Regions from separate parts of the Homo sapiens genome. Here region 1 is linked to region 2. Evidence: promoter capture Hi-C in human tissues and cell types (Jung and others, 2019). All regions are on one chromosome and are shown on one strand. Each heading gives the region's core, a stretch centred on a gene start or on the middle of the fragment in contact. The rest is flanking DNA. Distances are from core to core; before and after follow the strand shown.

The links. The method cuts DNA at HindIII sites, captures the fragments that hold promoters and counts their contacts. A contact is called where the count stands out against the background at its distance.
Region 1: a contact is called between a fragment that was not itself captured here and the fragment with the promoter of BTNL3 in region 2, in 1 of the 25 tissues and cell types used here (H1 embryonic stem cells).

Annotation. Positions count from the first base shown.
Region 1 is chr5:180,786,368-180,791,019 of GRCh38, forward strand. It overlaps MGAT1 (alpha-1,3-mannosyl-glycoprotein 2-beta-N-acetylglucosaminyltransferase), which reads right to left. Exons shown (of 2, transcript NM_002406.4): 2 at 1-4,652. Among named protein-coding and RNA genes, the nearest start is that of MGAT1, 14 kb to the right of the region's middle. RefSeq lists an enhancer at 1-490. The HindIII fragment of the contact is 7,218 bases long and covers 1-4,652 here.
Region 2 is chr5:180,985,810-180,990,562 of GRCh38, forward strand. It overlaps BTNL3 (butyrophilin like 3), which reads left to right and starts at 3,037. Exons shown (of 8, transcript NM_197975.3): 1 at 3,037-3,268. The coding sequence starts at 3,220. It also overlaps the pseudogene ARPP19P1. The HindIII fragment of the contact is 12,362 bases long and covers 1-4,753 here.

The sequences.
Region 1 (4,652 bases), core at 104-2,603, 200 kb before region 2:
ACCCTGCCCTCTCCAAATCCTCGTCACTGTCACAAGCTTGGTCTTCCAGGCACCGTGTATGGCCGTGGTCCCTGTAGTCGCCCATACAATCACTCCCTTCTTAGTAACAGGAATCTTAATTTGATTCAGCTTCAGAAATACTTTTTCCAGCCTCTTTTGCTGACAGGGGTGCCTGTGTGATCCAGTTCTACCCAGGGAATTGTGACCCAGCGCTCTGTGAGCTTCCAAGAGAGGAGGAGGCAGCTGCCATCCACCCTTTACCTTCTTCCTTCCTCCTTCTTCCTAAAACGTGTGCTGGCTGGAGCTCCCGCAGCCAAGGAATGAGACCTGACCTCGTGCTAAGAAGAGTGAGACTGAGACCTGAGAAGGAGCCTGGGCCCTGACGGTGGAGGAACCCCCACACCAGCCTGCACCATCGACCTCTCATTTCCGTCCGGCGCTGGGATCCAGGCTTCCTGCTCTGCAACTGAATCCATTCTGACACACTGTCTTACAGTTCTGGTATAAAGGGTCAGACTTCAAGTTAGCCAAGGGAGGCAGTGGGGGAAAGTAACAGCCTTGGCACTACCCGGCCCCCTTTCTATCAACTGCCCCCGCTCTGCCCGCTCCAGACACATGTGGAGGGGGATTAAGTGTCGAGGGAGCCAAGGTGAACAGCAGGAAAAGGAAAGCAGTGGAGACAGAGATTTCCACCAGGCTTTACTCACAATGCAGCCATACGGATTAATCCCACAGCCACCACAGAAGGTTGTGTTACCCCCGCCTCACAGGAAGAGGCTCTGGCAGGAAGAACAGCTGGACCCGAGTCAGACACGCAGGTCACGGGCCCAGAGCAGGGCCGGCCCAGGCCCACCGCACTCTATGACATCGGCCACCAGGCTGGTCTCCAGGAAATAGGGCCCTGGTGTCTACTTCCTAAACTCCCTGTGAATTGCCAGGGGCCAGAATGTGGGTAGGTGGGAGAACAGATGGAGGCTGAAGGACCTCTGGTGGCAAAACACTGACCTCTACAGAGGTCTCATCAGAAAGCCTGAAATCCCACGTTAGATATTTCAGAAAGAGGGCAAGCTTCTGTTCTATACATTTGTATGTTATTTAAAGTTACACAGCCAGACAAATATGTACATAACACTATGGGTTTTGGTGGTAAATGTTTTATCTATGCATATTATGTATAGATGTGAGGAAGACGTCTGGAAGGATACACCACCCACGCGTAAACACACGTTAAGGGAGCGTGTGCAGTATGTTGTATCTAAAATGAACATGTAATACGAAAAGCCAGTAGCTGGTATTTGTAAAGGGGTGCTCTGTATCTAACCCTCTAAATGCCCCCCACCTCCCACCCTCTTGGCCTGCTCTGAGGGCTTCGTCTCCGTTTCCCTGGCCCCTCAGCCTTGGCAGGCTTCTCATGCAGGGCCCAGTGAAGGCTCAGGAGGGCCTTGGCCAGACTCCATCAGACATTTGTCTCCACTGGGGGCGACTTGATCCACAAATGAGATCCCACCAGTGACCCAGGTAAGAGGATTGCAAAGGCCAAGAGGCTTGAGGAGGGAAGGCTGCCCGGAAGGCAGTCTGTCCTGGAGACAGAGTGAGCAGGAACCCACAGTGAGAGCAGGAGTGGCAGGAGGTGGTCACAGCTGGAGGCAGAAGCAGGAATGCAGCAGCAGCAGCAGCCAGGCGCAAGGCAGCTCTGTAAACCTGCAAACTCGAGGCTGGCTGAACTCTACAGCATTGACTAACACGGGGCTTTTCCATCTGGCATTTCCACTTGCTTTGGTATCCACAGGCGCTTCCGGGCCCGGGGGCAGCCGCCACGCACACACGCATGCCACCTGAGCAAGCCTTGATGGGTGAATACCAGGAGACCCCTGAAGGTGCTCCTTGCTTCAGGAGCCTGAGAACCCAGTCTTTCGTCTTGTAAGGGGGTCCTCTGGCACCGCAGGCCCCAAACTCTACTCCTCCCGCCATCTCTCCTGGACCTCCCCGAGCCACGCAGCCCCCTCTTCCTCTCCACCCTCACAGGAGACCGCCGGTGCCTGGCCTGAGAATCCAAGTGCAGCTGGGGAATGGCCTGGAAGAGGCCGTAAAGGCTGGAATGGAACAGTCCAGCCTCACACAGTGGCTAACAGCACAGAGTTCATTCCAATCCGGCTCTCCCTCAACCATCTGTGTGACCTTGGGCAACTTCACCTCTGTGTGCCTGCTTCCTCACTGGTAAAACAGGAGCAAAACAGTACCCACCGCCTAGGCTTGCTCTGAGGATCAAGTAAGTTGGTACTTATCCTGGAGCACTAAGTAAGTTGGTACTTATCCTGGAGCACTAAGTAAGTTGGTACTTATCCTGGAGCACTAAGTAAGTTGGTACTTATCCTGGAGCACTAAGTAAGTTGGTACTTATCCTGGAGCACTAAGTAAGTTGGTACTTATCCTGGAGCACTAAGTAAGTTGGTACTTATCCTGGAGCACTAAGTTGGTACTTATCCTGGAGCACTAAGTAAGTTGGTACTTATCCTGGAGCACTCAGAACAATGCACTTGGCTAGCTGCATGACATGCTATGCGCATGGAGCGTGGCGGCCAAACTCCTCCTGGCTCCACCGGAAAGGGCACAATGCAGCTATCGCCGGGCCGATTCCACGTCTGAAATCACGGATAATGACCACCTCCCCTTATTTAACAAAAAATATGGCTAAATAATCCATCTAAGCAACAGGGGAAGGCAAAACCCGCTCCACACAAATCTCAAAGGTTAAAATAAAACCAATGTCTGACACTGGTTTCTGAGCCCAGATGGGAGGTTGGAGCTGCTCCCAAGGCCACGGCCCTCGACACAGCTCCCCAGACAACTCTGCCACCATCTGGTGTCGAGCTCCAAAGTAGTTTCTGCCAAGAAAGTTGCCTAGCCCAGGGTTTTTGGTTTGTTTTGTTTTGAGACGCAGTTTCGCTCTTACCGCCCAGGCTGGAGTGCAGTGGTGCGATCTCAGGTCACTGCAACCACCCCGTCCCGGGTTCAAGCAATTCTCCTGCCTCAGCCTCCCAAGTAGCTGGAATTACAGGCATGTGCCACCACACCCAGCTAATTTTTGTATTTTTAGTAGAGATGGGGTTTCACCATGTTAGCCAGGCTGGTCTCAAACTCCTGAAGTGATCCACCCGCCTCAGCCTCCCAAAGTACTGGGATTACAGGCGTGAGCCACCGCGCCTGGACTAGCCCAGGGTTTTCAAACCCACTCATGAAATCAAGTTCGTGAGTCACAAAAAGCGTTTTGTTTTTCCGAGACAGAGTCTTGCTCTGTCGCCCAGGCTGGAGTGCAGTGGTATGATCTTGGATTACTGCAACCTCTGCCTCCCGGGTTCAAGTGATTCTCCAGCCTCAGCTTCCTGAGTAGCTGGGATTACAGGTGTGTGCCACCATGCCCAGCAAGTTTTTGTATTTTTAGTAGAGTATTTTTAGGTTTCACCATGTTGGCCAGGATGGTCCCGAACTCCTGACTTCGTGATCCGTCCGCCTCAGCCTCCCAAAGTGCTGGGATTACATGTGTAAGCCACTGCGCCCGGCCGCGTTTTGTTCTTTTAAATGAATTAGTGGAGAACAGAAACTCTCAGAATGTTGCACGTGATATGCAGAGGTAACAGTCTGTCTGTGTTCTGGGTATTAGCAAAACAGGCACTCTCACTGGGGTTGCGTTTGGGAGTCCAAGCGCCACTGTGAGGCCAACCCTGGTATCAGCTGTGTACCCTGAGGCTCCCCGGCACGTCATAAAGGGCACTCAATAAGCACTGCCTGGGCCAGCAGAGGGCACCGGGCACAAAGCACCACTCAGGGACCACCCTGATCAGAGGACCTGGTTCTTCCCCAGACCAGGCCTGCCCAGCCAGCAGGAGGCAGAAGCAGGAGACACTCACCAGCTTTCCTGCTGCGGCCTCCTGGCTCTACAGGACGATCAGCAGGAGCACAGTCCGGGGCTCCTCTCCACCTTGTGGCCTGGACTTCCTTTCCCACCTGGCCCCCATCCCCTGGGCTGTCCCTGGCTCTTCCCTCCCACTCATCTGCTTTCTTTCCTCAACTTTGCTTCCTCCCACCCGTCTAGCCCTCTCCTTAACTCTTCATTCTCCCTTTTCCTTTCTTTCCCTGCCTGCCACCTCCTTTTCCAGGACACACACACATAAATATTTTTCAGACAATTCAGCCTTTATTTTAGAAAATAATTCTGTAGCTTCCACTTTCTTTCATGAAACTGAGGTCAGGCAAGAAACAAAAATCCACCAAGTCCTCTCCATCCTGCCATGGCGTCCTGGCCTGTGAGGACATGGGGCGCCTGGGAGCGGGCGGGGAGGCTGGGCAGCACTGGGCCAGAGGCGTCCTGGTCACTGCTCCACCTGGTCACTGCTCCACCTCATGCTGAGAGGAGCCTGTGTGTCAAACCCCAGGGGAAAAAGGGACAGGCAGATCGAATTCTGTCTTCTACCAAGCCAGCAGGAGCCTCCTAGAGCAACAGGGAGGGCACTGATTTTCAGAAAGGAGGGGTCAGGGCATAGTCCCTCTCTGAGGTAAGGCAAGAGAGAGGTTGTCCCAGCACAAGGCCTTCCTCCCTGCACCTCTCTCCTGACAGCTGGGCATGGGCTGAGGAGAGGTCTTGCTTGCCCCCT
Region 2 (4,753 bases), core at 1,787-4,286:
TCTGCAAGAGATACAGTCCGAGACCCCTAGTAGATGCCTGAAACCTCAGATAGTACTAAACCCTGTATAGTCTATGTTTTTTCAATCTGACAACCAAGGCGGCTACTAAGCGACTAAGGGGCAGGTTGTATACAACCTGTGTGGATAAGCAGGACAAAGGGATGATTCACATCCCAGGCAGGACAGAGGAGGAGGATCATGAGATTTCATCACTACATGGCTTGTGATTTATTTTATTATTATTTTTTTTTTTTGAGAGGGAGTCTCGCTCTATCACCCAGCCTGGAGTAGTGGTGCGACCTTGGCTCACTGCAGCCTCTGCCTCCTGGGTTCAAGCAGTTCTTCTGCCTCAGCCTCCCAGGTAGCTGGGAATGCAGGCGCCCGCCAACATGCCCAGCTAATTTTTGTATTTTTAGTAGAGACAGGGTCTCACCATGTTGGCCAGGCTGGTCTCGAGCTCATGACCTTAGGTGATCCGCCCTCCTCGGCCTCCCAAGGTGCTGAGATTACAGGAATGAGCCACAGTGCACAACCAGCTTGTGATTTAAAACATGGTTTATTTCTGGAATTTTCCACATAATATGTTTGGACCAAGGTTGCCTCGGGTAACAAACTATGGAAAGTGAAATTGCAGATAAAGGGAGTTACTGCTGCTGTGCTCTAAAATTGGTGTTTGGGTGATCAGGAGTGGGTAGCCAATGGGAAGAGGTGATCAGGAGCAGGTAGCCAATGGGAAGAGGTGATCAGGAGCGGGTAGCCAATGGGAAGAGGTGATCAGGAGCGGGTAGCCAATGGGAAGAGCACTTCTGAGTGATCACCAAAGCAGTTTCTTTAGTGGTCTTTTCACATTCTCCAATGTTCAAGCATATTTTCCACTTTCCATTTTCTATTTCACCTCATTTTGCCTCATCATCTGCCATCCCTGCTTATTTCTTAAGCCTACTGATGGCACTCACTAAATTGTGTTTAGGGCTAATGAATCATTGTTCCTTAATATCCTTTTCAATATGCCACAATTTAGAATGCATTTAAAATTTTCTAAAACAATATCCTACTCTGAATATTAACTAATTTGAGCCACATTCCCATCTCTAACTCAGCACAAAGTGCCAGTCTTCCCCAATATCTCCTCTCAACTCCCCACCGCACCTTATAAAATTGGAATCAGAAATCTCACTCTGTCATTGCTCATCTTAGAATAAAAACACTGATTTTAATACTGTTTTACTAGTTTCAGCCTTCTAAGTACGTAGGCCTCTAGGTATTCTGCAGATCACTGGTGGTCTTGATAGCCATTCATATATGTTCGTATTATGTTATTTTTCAACTAAATCGCAATTGGAAAAAAACATCTTTAATATTATGCCCTTGGATCTGTTACTTCATTACTAATACTTGTGATGCAATAGGACACTTCACCTGTACTAAAAGGGCCAAGAGTAAATGTCTTGTTTTGTTGTTGTTGTTAAACATGTCTACAGAGTTGGCAGTTAATGCTGAATTTGTCAAATAGCTCTTCCAAAATTATACTTGTATTTAAAAAATAAATGGATCTACCTAATTTCTATTCATCTAATTTGCAGTTTTGTCTTATTAAAGTGGTATGTTTTTCAATGTATTTTTTTCTGAAGTTGATCTCTTTACATTTCAGCTATTACTGTAGGCAGAAAGAAATTGACTTGTAATCTTTGATTTTTTTGCATTTGTAATGGCTTTGTACTTAAGGTAGGATTACATGTTTACAGATTGTGGGGGAAAAAAAAAGAAAAGTGAAGGGAGAGAAAAGACAAGGCGAGTGGCCAGAGACCCTCAGGATCCAAGAGTTAACTCTGATTAACTCAGATGCTTTGTTCAGCCAATTTCAGACTTCTTTTTTCCTAATACAAGCACTTAAGGATAAGCCTTTCTGTAAGAACTGCCTTACATGCATCATAGTATTTTAAATGTAGTGTTTTCATTCTTCTTCTAGTCTAATTACCTTCAACTTCTATTATTAGTTCTCTTAGACCCATTAGTTATTTAAAATTGTGTTATTAACAATTTCTAAGTTCATGGGGTTTCCTCTTTTTAAATTGCTCTTTACCTTCGTTGTCCTTCGTGGTGCTCTCCGTGGAAACCTGCTTTCTGATCTAGTAAGTGCTTATTCTTTGTGCATGTCCCTAGACTTGAAATCACTGCATAATCCCTAACTGTGTGTGTCCTGGCTTAGTGCATCTAATGAATGACTGAATGAATGCATCTTTGCCTTTGCCTTACCCCCGGGCCTGAAACATCGTCTTGGTCCCCTTCTCAATACCTTGGATCCTTGGAGATCAAGGTCCTGGTTGTTCTGGCAAGTTCAACACAATCTGGCCTCATGATCAGAGTCCTGTCCCTGAACTCAAGACAAGGGAGGGATGGGCAGAATTACCTCATGCTGTGCCAGGAAATATGAGTCTCATGGGGCATGGCCTGTGTGCCTGGGCAAATTCACTGCCTCACTACCCTGTGCTGAGATGATCTCTTTTTTTTTTTTTTTTTTTTTTTTTTTCTGAGATAGAGCCTCACTCTGTCACCAGACTGGAGTGTAGTAGTGCAATCTGGGCTCACTGCAACCTCCCTCTTCCCGGTTCAAGCAATTCTCCTGCCTCAGCCGCCCAAGTAGGTGGGACTACAGGTGCGCACCACCATGCCTGGCTGATTTTTGTATTTTCAGTAGAGACGGGGTTTCATCATGTTGGCCAGGATGATCTCGATCTCTTGACCTCGTGATTCACCTGCCTTGGCTTCCCAAAGTGCTGGGATTACAGGCATGAGCCACTGCGCCCGTCCAATCTCTCTTTCAGGGACAGATGTTCACTCTCTCTTGCAGCTCTGCCTGCCAGACTAAGCCTGAAAATATCTCTGCATCTGGCATTCCTTTACCACCTATGTGGGGCACAACCCAGAACAAAGTCCCTCCAAGTGTACCCTACTCTCTTTCCATTATCATTTCTCTGGTCTGAGATAGATGTTTATGACCTGCCAATAAATGCAGTGACTCAAACTCCAGTGCCCATACTCCTCATTCATACAGCCATGTTTAGGGAGGCTCTAGGGAGAAATGCACAGTTTGACATCGTTCATGAAGAGCCTCTCCACGGCTCCTGCGCCTGAGACAGCTGGCCTGACCTCCAAATCATCCATCCACCCCTGCTGTCATCTGTTTTCATAGTGTGAGATCAACCCACAGGAATATCCATGGCTTTTGTGCTCATTTTGGTTCTCAGTTTCTACGAGCTGGTGTCAGGTAAGCCTTTCAGTTTGGACTGTTGTTTTTCTCCTTGTTGAATAATATTTTGAGTTCATTCATGACAATGATCTCAGCACAGTGAGATGCAGGAATCTTTGGTGCTTGCATTCTCCAGCTTCTCCTGGCCTCAGGCTGGAAACTACCAATGCCAGGAGCTGTGGGAAGCACAGGGCAGCAGGAATTGAGGAAGACTCCTTGGGCTGTTTCTCAAGGACTTGGGCACTATCACAGTAGCTCAGAATAATGGGAGCAGGCCCTGGGAGCAGGGAGGGAACACATTGAGAACGCCAAGGTAAACACATTGTTCTCCCCAGGTGGGCTGTGGGGCTTAGGCAGGGGAAGTCTCTAATAAAATCCCCAGGTTTTTGACTTGGGTGCCTGGGTGGAAGGTGGCACTGTTTAGGATGTTTGGAGAAAAAGACAATGTGTCCAGTTATGCACATGCTGAGTTAGAAACACCTGTAGTTATGGGGTAGAGCACCAGACCTTTAAGTGAGGAGTAAGTTGGAACCTGGCATAGTCTAGGCAGAAACCCACTCTTCTTTCTCCTTCTAGTAACCATCAAGACAAAGCCTGGTGTATAGGATATTCAGTAATCAAATAAATTTTGCAGGGAGAGATAGGGGCTGGAGTAGAACACTGGATTCTGGGTGGTCAGTGTTAAGCCACAAAAAGTTCATTTGACTGTGTTCACTTTCTGTCTGGAACAGTTCCATCCTGCTATTTGTCTACCTATGACTGTTTTGCTAAACAAAGCCAACAAAACAGAAATAAGGGGATCAAAATCCATGTGTGCTCAGAGGGCGTGGTGGCTCACACCTGTAATCCCAGCACTTTGGGAGGCTGAGGTGGGTGGATCACCTGAGGTCAGGAGTTTGAGACTAGCCTGGCCAACATGGTGAAACCCCATCTCTACTAAAAACACAAAAATTAGCCGGGCATGGTGGTGAGCGCCTGTAGTCCCAGCTACTCGGGAGGCTGAGGCACGAGAATCACTTAAACCCAGGAGGCGGAGGTTGCAGTGTGCCAAGATCGTGCCACTGCACTCCAACCTGGGTGACAGAGTGAGACTTTGTCTCAAAAAAACAAAAACAAAAAATCACAATCCACGTATGTTACTCACAAGACAGCCTCCGTTTAAGTACATTCTCACCCATTTTCTGACAAGCCTTTCTGTCTGCTTTCTGTTTCTGCATGAGGCAGCAGGGCATGCTGGAAATGACCTTAGAGGAAGTAACACTATTTTTAAAACTTTCCTTTTCTCTATGAGCTTGTGGCTAATAACTTCTATTAGCATCAATTTTTGCTTATGATGACATAGAGATAATAAGATCACATCTGTGACATTCCTGTGGCTGAAGGGCTGCTGTGTGGATTGCGTGAACTCGTGCATGTAGAGCGTCCAGCACGGAGCTCCGCTGGGGCACAGTATGTTGCGACAACAGACAGTGTCATTCCTTGCTTCTCCCCAGGGGAAGGAGT